3 separate regions of the Homo sapiens genome follow, and all the other regions are linked to region 1. The links are contacts of gene promoters, found by promoter capture Hi-C in blood cells and fetal thymus (Javierre and others, 2016). All regions are on one chromosome and are shown on one strand. Each heading gives the region's core, a stretch centred on a gene start or on the middle of the fragment in contact. The rest is flanking DNA. Distances are from core to core; before and after follow the strand shown.

What was found. Contacts are between HindIII fragments. The CHiCAGO score rates a contact against its expected background, and 5 or more counts as called.
Region 2: a contact is called between the fragment with the promoter of MIR2117HG here and a fragment that was not itself captured in region 1, in 1 of 17 cell types (endothelial precursors). The highest score is 6.9, in endothelial precursors.
Region 3: the fragment with the promoter of DHX8 here is called in contact with a fragment that was not itself captured in region 1 in 4 of 17 cell types (endothelial precursors, M0 macrophages, M1 macrophages and 1 more); the score reaches 9.2 in endothelial precursors.

The regions. Positions count from the first base shown.
Region 1 is chr17:43,682,175-43,686,100 of GRCh38, reverse strand. All of the region lies in intron 3 of LINC02594 (long intergenic non-protein coding RNA 2594), which reads right to left. The region is part of intron 1 of LOC107985085 (a long non-coding RNA gene); the gene reads left to right. Among named protein-coding and RNA genes, the nearest start is that of LINC02594, 19 kb to the right of the region's middle. The HindIII fragment of the contact is 1,134 bases long and covers 1,094-2,227 here.
Region 2 is chr17:43,442,724-43,446,649 of GRCh38, reverse strand. It overlaps MIR2117HG (MIR2117 host gene), which reads right to left and starts at 1,943. Exons shown (of 2, transcript NR_146952.1): 1 at 1,742-1,943. MIR2117 (microRNA 2117) reads right to left here and starts at 1,844; the gene lies at 1,765-1,844. It also overlaps the pseudogene RNU6-406P. The HindIII fragment of the contact is 4,934 bases long and covers 1,635-3,926 here.
Region 3 is chr17:43,482,159-43,486,084 of GRCh38, reverse strand. DHX8 (DEAH-box helicase 8) reads right to left here and starts at 2,110. Exons shown (of 23, transcript NM_004941.3): 1 at 1,900-2,110. The coding sequence starts at 2,047. RefSeq lists enhancers at 1,846-2,275, 1,575-2,417. The HindIII fragment of the contact is 15,734 bases long and covers 1-3,926 here.

The DNA.
Region 1 (3,926 bases), core at 411-2,910:
AAGATCAGCCTGGGCAACATCACAAGACCCCAACTCCAGAAAAAATTTAAAAATTAGCCAGACATGGTGGCGTGCACCTGTAGTCCCAGCTACTTAGGAGGCTGAGATAGGAGGATCGCTCGAACCCAGAAGTTTGAGATTGCAGTAAGCTATGATTGCACCACTGCACTCCAGCCTGGACAACGAGACCCTGTCTCTAGAAAAAAAAAAAAAGGCACGTATTCCTGGACACCCCTCTCACCAATAAACACATCCTTGCCAGAGCAGAATCTCTGAGAGTGGGCCCAGGAGTCTTCAGTCTACCATGCTGCTGGGATGTGTCTTATACAAAAATCAGGAAGTAGGCCGAGCACAGTGGCTCGTGCTTGTAATCCCAGCACTTTGGGAGGCCAAGGCAAGCGGATCACCTGAGGTCAGGAGTTCGAGACCAGCCTGGCCAACACGGTGAAACCCTGTCTCTATTAAAAACACAAAAAATTAGCCAGGCATGGTAGCGGGCGCCTGTAGTCCCAGCTACTCGAGAGGCTGAGGCAGGAGAATTGCTTGAACCCAGGAGGCAGAGACTGCAGTGAGCCAAGTTTGTGCCACTGCACCCCAGCCTAGACAACAGAGTGAAACTCCGTCTCAAAAAAAAAAAAAAAAAAAAAAAATCAGGAAGTAGAAAGAGAATGGACTTTGAAGTCAGGGAGCTCTGGGCTGAACTCCTAGCTTTCCCCACCTCCTAGTTGTGGGAATGCTCTTTATCTTCTCCAAACCTGTGTTCTCTTCCATAAAGCTGGGGGCTCTGATCTGCATGTGGCGGGAATTATGAGGATTCAGATAAACAGGGAAAGCACAGAGGCAGATGCTGCGGACGCCCTCCCGCATCTTCTGGGGGTCCCCTCATCCTGGAGCCCAACGGACCTAACTTCTGACAGCCTGAGGGCCCCTGGGAGTGCTGAAGAATGAGTGTCCCACCCACTCCATCCAGCAGCCTTAACAAAGGACGGGGATGGAGTTGGTGTATAAGTACCCGCTCCCTCATCCTTCCAGTGGGATAACTCTGAGGTGCAGGTTCCATGCTGGCTCCTGAGTTTCCCAGCAAAATTAAGCTTCCGTCACCCGCCGGGGTGCCCTTCCTGACAACACGCCCCTGTAAGCTGCCTTCCTTCCCTGGGTCACCTCCCTACCCTCCTACTGGAGCTTCCTGTGAGCATCCCTCAAACAAACAACTTGCCCTCAAGTACTTGTCTCAGGTCAGCTCCTGCGGGACCCCAGGCTAACATAAGCCTGGCAGCCTGGAAATGAGCCTTTTTTTTGAGACAGTGTCTTGCTCTGTCGCCCATGCTGGAGTGCGGTGGCACAATCACAGCTCACTGTAGCCTCAACCTCCCGAGCTCAAGCCATCTTCCCACCTCAACCTCCAGAGTACCACCATTCCTGGGTAATTGTTCTCTATTTTTTGTAGAGACGGGGATTTCGCCATGTTGCCCAGGCTGGTCTCAAACTCCTGGGCTCAAGGGATCCACCCGCCTCGGCCTCTCAAAGTGCTGGAATTACAGGCAGGAGCCACCACGCCTAGCCGTGAGTTCTTTTTCCTCTCCTCGTCTTTGACTGTCAGTGTGGAGACCAGGTTGGCCCAGACCAAGCAAAGCCACCAGAGGGCCTGGATAGTGCTGTGGCTTGCAGGGATACATAGACACTGATGTCCGGGACCCAGCAAGGACAGTGTCCCCTGACTGTAAGGATGCCATCGAAGTCCCAGGAAAGGCAGCTCACCCTTCCCTTCCCCAGATCCCCAGTATCTGCTAGTCAGGAAGCAGAGCTATAGGCCCATCCACAAGAATCCCCTAATCCCACATCCCTCAGTCTGAAATTGGCCCTAACCACAACTTTCCCTATCTTCATCTTTCTTTCCTAGTTCCTCAGACACAAAGCAAACAGCCACTTCCCCGCTCCTCAGAGACACCTTGCCTCTAAATCTTGAAACTGCCAAGCCCCAGCTGGCTAGGCCACTGGCCACATGAATTCTAGTCCCCAGGGGCACTGAAGTCACCTCCCAGAGAAATCCCTATGATTTCATCTTCTATTTAATCTTTATTTCTCCTCATACTTTTCAGAACTTCAAATAATTTCTCGTTTGTAGTAACTAGGAAGCCATAAATCGCCCCTTTATGTCTAAGGAAAATCAATTGTTATTTGACATTTTACCTTAATATTCCCGACTTCCTTCAACTGTAATAAAGCTTCCATCTGCCTTTTATTTTACAGGCAATTAGTAAGTCACCTTTTTAAAATTTCTCCACATTTTCTATCAAATGAATGCTAGGATTGAAAGGGGAGAGCTGTTTTATGGGATTGAACTCACTGAGTAGAAGGGATTTATCTGTAGCCTTCGAGGTACCAACACTCATTAATGGGTTTTATTGATTTGGGGGCTTTTTAACCCTTAGCAATAATACAGGTGTCACCTGCCCAAGGCAGTTGGGAGGGGGCAGGGATGCTGGGAGGGGCTGTGAGGGAGTCCACACATTTCTGAGCCCTGGGCCCAAGCTAGAAAGGCAGAGAAATGAGATCTAACCCTTTGAAGTGTGATCACGCTCAGTGCAACCACACCCTCAGAGGTAAATCATAGCCCAGACACCCTCTTTTTCCTGGAGACAAAGTTGGAGTTTTTTGGGTTTTTTCTTCAAATTACCCAGGGGAATGCAATGCTTTTGCACCCCTATCATGGGATCAAAAGAAAGAGGCCCATTGTTGGGGTTCAAGGCCCTGGGCTTGGTCTGCCTCTTTTAGCCCTGGGGTTGTGGGCAGGCCAGGGAAGGAACCTCTGAGACTCAGTTTCCTACGATGTGAAGTGGAGAGAAGAATCTCCTCTTTAGCCACCTCTCAGGGCTGCTGGTGTTCGCCCCCAGACCACGTCTGTGAGAAATGCTTAGAAGACTATGCAGGGCGTAAGAAACTACATAAGGAACCAATGAGAATCCTAGTCACAAATGGAAACCTCAGTCCACAAACTCCAGAACGAAACCTTCCTTGCTTTTCTAGAACTCATCTTATGGGTTCTGTACCCCCCATTGCCTGGGCTGGTGGAACTCTGGTGCCAGTCTTTCCCTAGCAATTTCTCCAAAACCCCCCACGGCCTTTTCCACCATTCCCCTTCCTTGAAGGCCGCCATTTGACACTCAGAGCCCAGGAAGCCTTTCTTGGTCCAGACAGCAGGACTGGAAGCCTTAGAGCTGTCGGCAAGAGATGTGAGTCCTGTAGCTGAGGACAGTCCAGGCAGAGTATGAATAAGACGGCAAAAGTAAGTCCAGAAGACATTAATGGTAGACTTTGGGTGGCAGGTGTATGGGTGCTCACTATAAAATCTTTTCAACATTGCTATACACTTGAAATTTTTCATTAAAATGTTAGAAGGGAAAAAAAAGGCTTATTCTGGGGCAAATCCCCCAAGGTAGGGTACCCGCCTGTGATGGGAGAAAGGAACGAATGTGAGCAGAGGAGGAAGGCAAGGGGCCCTCTGAATCTAGACGAATTTGTTTGTGGGACCTGCTACGTTATTTGTGGGCCCAGTGCAAAATGAAAATTTGGGGCCCTTCCTTCATAAATTAAGAATATCAGCTAGGCACGGTGGTTCATGCCTGTAATCCCAGCACTTTGTGGGGCCGAGGTGGGTGGATCACCTGCGATCAGGAGTTCGAGACCAGCCAGCCTGGCCAACATGGTGAAACCCCGTCTCTACTAAAAATACAAAAATTAGCTGAGTGTGGTGGTACATGCCTGTAATCCCAGCTACTCAAGGAGCTGAAGCAGGAGAATTGCTTGAACCCAGGAGGCAGAGATTGCAGTGAGCTGAGATCACGCCATTGTACTTTATCTTGGGTGACAATAGTGAAACTCCATTTCCAAAAAAAAAAGAAAAAAAAAACAGTATCAAGATGGGA
Region 2 (3,926 bases), core at 694-3,193, 240 kb after region 1:
TTTTTTTCTTGTAAATCTAGGTCTGAACAGATAATTGTATAATTTGGTAACTTGTTTTCCTCTCTTTTTTAGAGACAAGGTCTTTCTCTGTCACCCTAGCCAGAGTGTAGTGACGTGATCATAGCTCACTGTAACCCCAAACTCTTGGGCTCAAGCAATCCTCCTGTCTCAGCCTCCTGAGCAGCTAGGATTAAAGGCACTTGCCACCATCCCCAGCTAATTTTATTTATTTATTTATTTATTTATTTATTTATTTATTTATTTATTCATTCATTCATTTATTGGTAGAGACAGGGTCTCGCTGCATTGCCCAGGCTGGTCTCAAACTCCTGGCCTCAAGTGAGCCTCCGCCTAGGCATCCCAAAACCCTGGGATTGTTTTTTTTGAGACAGAGCTTCACTCTTCTTGCCTAGGCTGAAGTGCAATGGCGAGATCTTGGCTCACCGCAACCTCCACCTCCCGGGTTCAAGCAATTATCCTGCCTCAGCCTCCTGAGCAGCTGGGATTACAGGCATGCGCCACCATGCCCGGCTAATTTTGTATTTTTAGTAGAGATGGGGTTTCACCATGTTGGTCAGGCTGGTCTGGAAATCCTGACCTCAGGTGATCTGCCCGCCTCGGCCTCCCAAAGTACTGGGGATTACAGGTGTGAGCCACCACACCCAGCCTTTTTTTTTTTTTTTGAGACAGAGTCTTGCTCTGTCACCCAGGCTGGAGAGCAGTGGCACAATCTTGGCTCACTGCAACCTCCGCCTCCTGGGTTCAAGCGATTCTCTCGCCTCAGGCTCCCGAGTAGCTGGGATTACAAGCACACACCACCATGCCCGGCTAGTTTTTGTATTTTTAGTAGAGATGATGTTTCACCATATTGGACAGTCTGGTCTTGAACACCTGACCTCAGGTGATCTACCCACCTCGGCCTCCCAAAGTGTTGAGATCATAGGCGTGAGCCACCGTGCCTGGCCTCAAAACCCTGGGATTACAGGTGGGAACCACTGCATATGGCTGAGTTGTACACTTTAAAAAAAATTTTTTTTTAAATATGGAACACTTCACAAATTACAGTGTCATCTTTGAGCAAGGGTCATGCTAATTTTCTTTGTATCATTCCAATTTTAGTATATGTGCTGCTGAAGTGAGCATTGAATTGTATAATTTAAAAGGGTAAATTTTGTGGTATACTATACTAGTTTTATGGTATACCATAAAATTGTGGGTATACTTTATAAAAATAAAATTATGGTATGTAAAATGTTACGGTATACCATAAAATTATGGTATACTTTATGGTATACCATTAAATTGTACTCAGGCAGTATGAAAAACTCAGTATAAAAAAATTCATAGACCTGTACACCAACAGAAAAAATTTTACTGCATAATTTAAAAAATAAAAAAAAAATTAAGTCCTGTGTCCGAAAGGCAGGAGCCAGGTTCTCACCTGTTGTGTGTCACCTAAGTTGCCTCATACAATAAATGCTGAGGACAGTGGTTCCCGGACGTGGGTACATGTCCAGGAACCACCTGGTTGGGGGAGGTCTTTGAAAACTTCTGATGCCTGGCAACCGCCCCCAGGCATTCAGATTTAATTGGTCTGAGGTACAACCTGGGTACTGAGATGTTTTTTTAAAGCTTCCCAGGTGATTCTAACATGCAGCAAAATTTGAGAACCACGGGCTTAGCAAAAGGTTGATGAACAACCATTCTTGGGAGCCAAAAGCTAATCCCCGCCCCACCTTACCTCACTTTCACCTCAAGGCAATCAGATCAGATCTGTCCTTGGCAAAGAGAACAGCTACAGCCAATCCTGCTGTTCACCATGCCGGACAGAAGTAAATCAGAGCATTCTCTCCAGTTCCTTAAGGGCCACTGCTCTCTCTATAAACATGTGGTTGATGAGATCAGCAATTCTGAAGCAGGATCCATTCTACAAAGCATGGTTTCTTCCGTTCTCCCCAGGTTTTCTCTCTCTTGCTGTCCCCATTTGTAGCTGGGGTTGGGAAGTGGAGGAGAGAGAAAGTCACTGAATAAATACATTCTCTGTGTTCTCAATGAACAGACATGAAAGAAAAGAAAAATGGTAAATACATTCCTAGTAGGGTGAGCCTCAGTAGGTTTCTGGATTACCCTTCCCAGAAACATTCATATTTTCAAAGAAGACCTCCTGGTAAACGAAGACATGAGTCACTAGTAAGGAAGGTTTTGAGGGACAGGGTCTCTTTCCTTTAACTTCCCAGACACATGTCTGGACTGGTCCTGATTGTTTGACCTGTCTGTTTTCTTAGAACAGAGCATGAGATCCTAGCTAGCTGCATTCCATTCACTTAACAATTTGTTGTTCGAATTTATTTATTTCAGTTACGATTAGGTTTTGTCTGTGGCATTTATCGTCTTTCTATGCCAAGCAGTCTCACACTAACTTGAAAGCCCTTTTGTATTATCTACTGTGTTTCCTACAGGTGAGTCTTTTCACCTTGTCTTAGTAATTAAGACTTCTGGTTGTAGATTACAAAAACCATCTCAAGCAAGTTTAGGCAACAATGGGAGTTCTCAATGAGATTACAGGTGGAACCAGGAAAGTTAAGCCTCAGGGAGAGCAGGAATCCAGGCATACGTGGTCTTTATCAGGGAGTAGACACCAGGGCCCCACCCCAGTCAATGGGGAAGTCAGATCTCAGAGAATAATAATCATTGAACATGAATTGAATGTCTGCTATGTGCAGGAACATATATTATTGATAACATATTCTTATGTTATCAGTATGAGTTATATTACTATTGCTCTTCCCATTTTATAAATGAGGAAACTGAGGTCCACAGAAGATAAGCAATATGTTCAAGAGCTTCCAGGCCAGGTCCGGTGGCTCACACCTGTAATCCCAGCACTTTGGGAGGCCGAGGCAGGAGGATCACCTGAGCCTCAGAGTTTTGAGTCCAGCCTGGGCAACATAGGGAGACCTTATCTCTACAAAAAATTTAAAAAGTAACCAGGTGTGGTGGTGGTGCCTGTGGTCCCAGCTATTCAAGAGGCTGAGGTAGGAGAATCACTTGAGCCCGGGAGGTAGAGTCTGCAGTGAGCTGTGACTGTGCCACTGGACTGCAGCCTGGGTGGTGGAGAAAGACTCGGTCTCAAAAAAAAAAAAAGAAGTAGGGGGTGGGGGGCAGTTCCAGTTGGCACTGGAACTCAGGCAGTATGGTTTCAGAATTGACACACTTAGCCACCAGGTGAATGGTTCCCTTAAGAGTTGTACAGTGGGCAACCTGCACACCCATACCTGGCAGCCCTGACTATGGACTAGATCAGTGTTTCTCATCAGAGACACTGAGGACATTTGGAGCTAGATAATTTTTTGTGTAGGACTATCCCATCCTTCATTTACTATATGTGAGTGGTAATAACGCTCCCAATCATTGTGACAATCAAAAGCCAATCATTGTGACAATCAAAAGTATCAACCTCTTGAAACTTAAAAAAAAAAGAAAATGAAAAAAAAAAATTTAAGTATCAACCTCAGTTGAGAATCACTAGGATAAGTAGATAGCCCCAAATGATGTCTACATCTATTTTGTGAGCTCTTGATGACCAGTAGCAATGTGACTTCTTTTCCTCTTCCCACAGTAGTTGGCCCAGACAACTGTATACATACTCCACAAATGCTGGATGTGCATTGTCATTAGAGCCTGAAAGGATCCAGAGTCCTCAGCTTGGTGCTTCCCTACCCAGGATGATAGGGATGGAAACATGAGTCATGCATGGTAGATTCACTCCAACATCCTACGGGAAGACACAACAGTTTTCTCAGTTTTTCATTTGGTCCGCTGAACAAGCCAGCATGGTAGAAGGGCAGGAATTAGTCATTCCTATTATGAAAAAAGAATGTAACAGTAAAATTGTTTTTAATTTTGGCAAAGAAAAAAGTAACTAT
Region 3 (3,926 bases), core at 861-3,360, 200 kb after region 1:
TGCATAGCACCAGTCACCATGGCCAGCTAATTTTTGTATTTTTTTTTTTTAGTAGAAATGGCGTTTCGCCATGTTGGCCAGGCTGGTCTCAAACTCCTGACCTCAGGGGATCGGCCTGTCTTGGCCTTCCAAAGTGCTGGGATTACAGGCGTGAGCCACCAAACCCAGCCAATGTTAGTACTTTTAATGTTACTGGTTTTATAATTCTGTATGTAACAGAAAAAGCATATTTGTGGGTTTTCTGCAAATTAATTGAGATCTTTAGCTATAAATAAACTAAAAGATTATGAAGTTTATACTTCGCTCTATTTTTGTACACAAATGAAGTTAACATCAAAACAATTAAACACTGGGGGTTAATGTCAATAACTTTTTTGTTTCTTCTAAAAGGCCAAGGTATTAGGAGTTAAAATGAAAACAGAGAGAAAGGTAAGCTCCCTGAAAGCAGAAATCTGTCTTGTTCTCTGTGGTATGCCTAGCCCCCAGCTCAATATTTGCTGAATAAAGGAAACATATTAACGAGATAGCAAAACCGACGAAATTATCACCTCATTATCAACTAAAAGAGAAGAATCCTGCGGGAAAAGTTATATAGGACAGACACATCTTGGCTGGGAGGCAAGAGAAAAAAGTAAACTAAAATATACTGGCTGCAGGGCATCTTCCTAAATGCTATATGGTGACCCTGTGAAGACATCGTCCCACTTCACAGATGAGAAAAACAGCTTCAGAGAAACTATGAATCTTACCAAAGGTCACTCGTCTAACTTCCCTAACCCCTCCTGTCACCTGCCCCTTCCCTTCCATCCCTCCGGTTGATGACTTTATCTTCATTTAGGAAACTGAAGAGTGGGCTGGAACTCTCTCACTCATCTTCCCACCACCAATCTCTAAACTCATCTGAATCTGCAACTGTATTCTCTGTCCTCGCTCCTGTTACAACTGAAGAAGCCTTGCTGTACGTACCAAAGGTCAATCCATCCATTGGTTGCCCTTGATCCCATCCATCCTCTGTACCTTCATAAAGGCTCCATCTGTCTATGGCTTTAGCTTTAGGACCCTAGCCTTTTCTAATTCCTCAGTTTCGGCTCCCCAGATGTAGTTTGCCCCAAAACATCTAGTGACTGGTGTTTAAGACATAGTACAGGACGCAATGGCTCACGCCTGTAATCCCAACACTTTGGGAGGCCGAGGGAAGAGGACTGCTTGAGCCCAGAAGTTCGAGACCAGCCTGGGCAATACAGTGAGACCCCCGTCTCTACAAAAAATTTAAAAATGAGTCGAGCTTGGTGGCGCCCGCCTGTAGTCCCAGCTACTCGGGAGGCTGAGGTGGGAGGACTGCTTGAGCCCAGGAGGTGGAGGCTGCAGTGAGCCGAGATCGTGCCACTGCACTCCAGCCCGGGAAACAGAGCGAGGCCCTGCCTCAAAAAAGAGTACAGGATGAACGGTCAAAGAACACAGTTAAAAGCACAGACGCTAACTACTATGTCACAGAGTGGCGTGAAGACCAAATAAAATAATGTCAATAAAGAGCTGAGCATCGCATCTAGCACATAGTGAGCACCCAATAAACGTCAGCCATCATCGTCGTCATCGCAGCATCTGCTGCTGTTGTTGTTAAACATGTTTAATTGAGGCTGAAAAAACAAACAAAAAACAATCAAGCAGAGATGACCGCCCCGGGCTTCACTGACAGCTCTGGGAAAGTTTCTAAAGTTTCTCGAGGGCTCTCAAGCCGAGGCCACGGCAGCGTGTACCCTGGGCACCGGTGTCTGCGACAGAGAGAGACAGATTCACACGAACATACTTTCGGTCCATCAACCACCTTTCTCCTTCCTCCTTCCTCCTTCCGCTTCCCTCAATCCCAAACTGAGGTCCCAGGGACCTCCCCGAGCTCACCAAGGTCCTTGTCGTTGATCCCCAAGTGATTGTCCAGCTCAGTGCAAACCTTTGACACCAAAGACAGGTACTCGAGTTTGGCAAGTTCTTCCGCGGGGCCTGGCTCCGACCCGATTAAGGCTCCCGCCATGGCTACAGCCACAGCCATGGCTATAGCTTGCCCAGAACCTCCTTCCTCACAGCCGGCGCTCAGAGCTACTCCGGCCGGGTTCCAGCTTTCACTTCCGGGTCAGCGCGCGTCCCCTTTGTTTACGGTAAATTGAAAATTTGAGGAACGAATCAAGTCCCAACAGGATGGATCATAGAGATCAAACAGGAAGTGCTTAAGGAAGGGACAACTAGAGTGGGTTACTCTGCACGCCGATCTGCGCCCTCTACAGGCGAGAAAAATCTCCGCCCGCCCTCAGGCCTGGAAACGTTCACTCAGCGCGCTCCCGCCCTGGGTCGGCAGAGGGCGACCCCGGCCTGCACAAGAGGCGCCGGGAGGCAACCGCAAAACAGCCTGCGCCTGCGCTTTAGAACACTTGAAAAAGGAATCTTAATGCACGTCTGGAAAAAGACAAACTTGCTTTACTGTGGATCCGCAAATTCCCGGCCTCACTTCTTTGTGGTTCCTGTCGTCCGATCTCAAGTGACCCTTGACAAGCCAGTAGGCAGTAGATTGCCTTCTCTTGTTTTACACACGAAGAAACTGGCACTTCCACTGCCAGCTGGCTGCTTGGGCAAATCAATCTCTGGGGCCTTAGTTTTCTCATCTGTAAACTAGAATAATGTTGCTCTACCCTAAATGGAATAACTGCAAGGAGTGTGACACAGAGTAGGCACACCGCAAATGACAGTTACTGTTAATATCACAAGGCTAGGCCGGGTGCAGTGGCTCACGCCTGTAATGCCAGCACTTTGGGAGGCCGAGGCTGGTGGATCACTTGAGGTCAGGAGTTCCAGACCAGCCTGGCCAACGTGGCGAAACTCCATCTCTACTAAAAATAGAAAACTTAGCCGGGCGTGGTGGTGGTGGGCGCCTGTAGTCCCAGCTACTCGGGAGGCTGAGGCACAAGAATCGCTTGAACCCAGGAGGCAGAGGTTGGAGTGACCTGAGTTCACACCACTACACTCCAGCATGGGCGACAGAGTGAGACTTTGTCTCAAAAAAAAAAAAAAAAAAATTCAAGGCTGAGATGATGGTCACAGAACTGGCCTCTGGTCTGTCAAGCACAGATCCCCTTAGTCTGGGAACCCACAGAGCCAGCTGCCTCCACTCTTGTGAAAACCTGCTTTTCAATCCCCAGTTTTCCTGTGTCCTCTCAGAACTTATTCCCCCAGGGGCTGGGCACTGTGGCTCACCCCTGTAATCCCAGCACTTTGGGAGGCCGAGACGGGCGGATCACTTGAGGTCAGGAGTTCAAGACCACTCTGGCCAACATGGTGAAACCTCGTCTGTACTAAAAATACAAAAATTAGCTGGGCGTGATGGTATGTGCCTGTAGTCCCAGCTACTAGGGAGGCTGAGGCGGGAGAATTGCTTGAACCTGGGAGGTGGATGTTGCAGTGAGCTGAGATCTCGCCACTGCACTCTAGCCTGTGCGACAGAGTGAGACTCCGTCTCAAACAAACAAAACACACACACAAAAACAACAACAAACCTTATTCCCCCAAATATCAGCTGTGCTGTAAGTCCAAGGTCATAAGCTCAGGTCTCCCAACTTCTGCTTCAGGTCTTTTTTACCTTTGTGGCAACCTTAATGTGGGATGGGGATTTTTCCCACACTCCAGTGCTCTGTGTGATGAGTAAGGAAACAGAAGCACCCTAAAGTGAATGGCTCTCCAATCAATCGGAAGGAGGAAATCAGTCTCCCACTTTTCACTTTGGCAACATTTTTACACTGGTGTACCTTTGGACTCTGTTTCTTCAACATCTCATCATGGACTGAAAAATGACAGGCAGAGAAAAACCCAGCCATTGTTCTCACTGTCTCCAGAAGCTCCAGGTTTCCAGGTTCCTAAGGAATCACTACTAAACCCTCTGA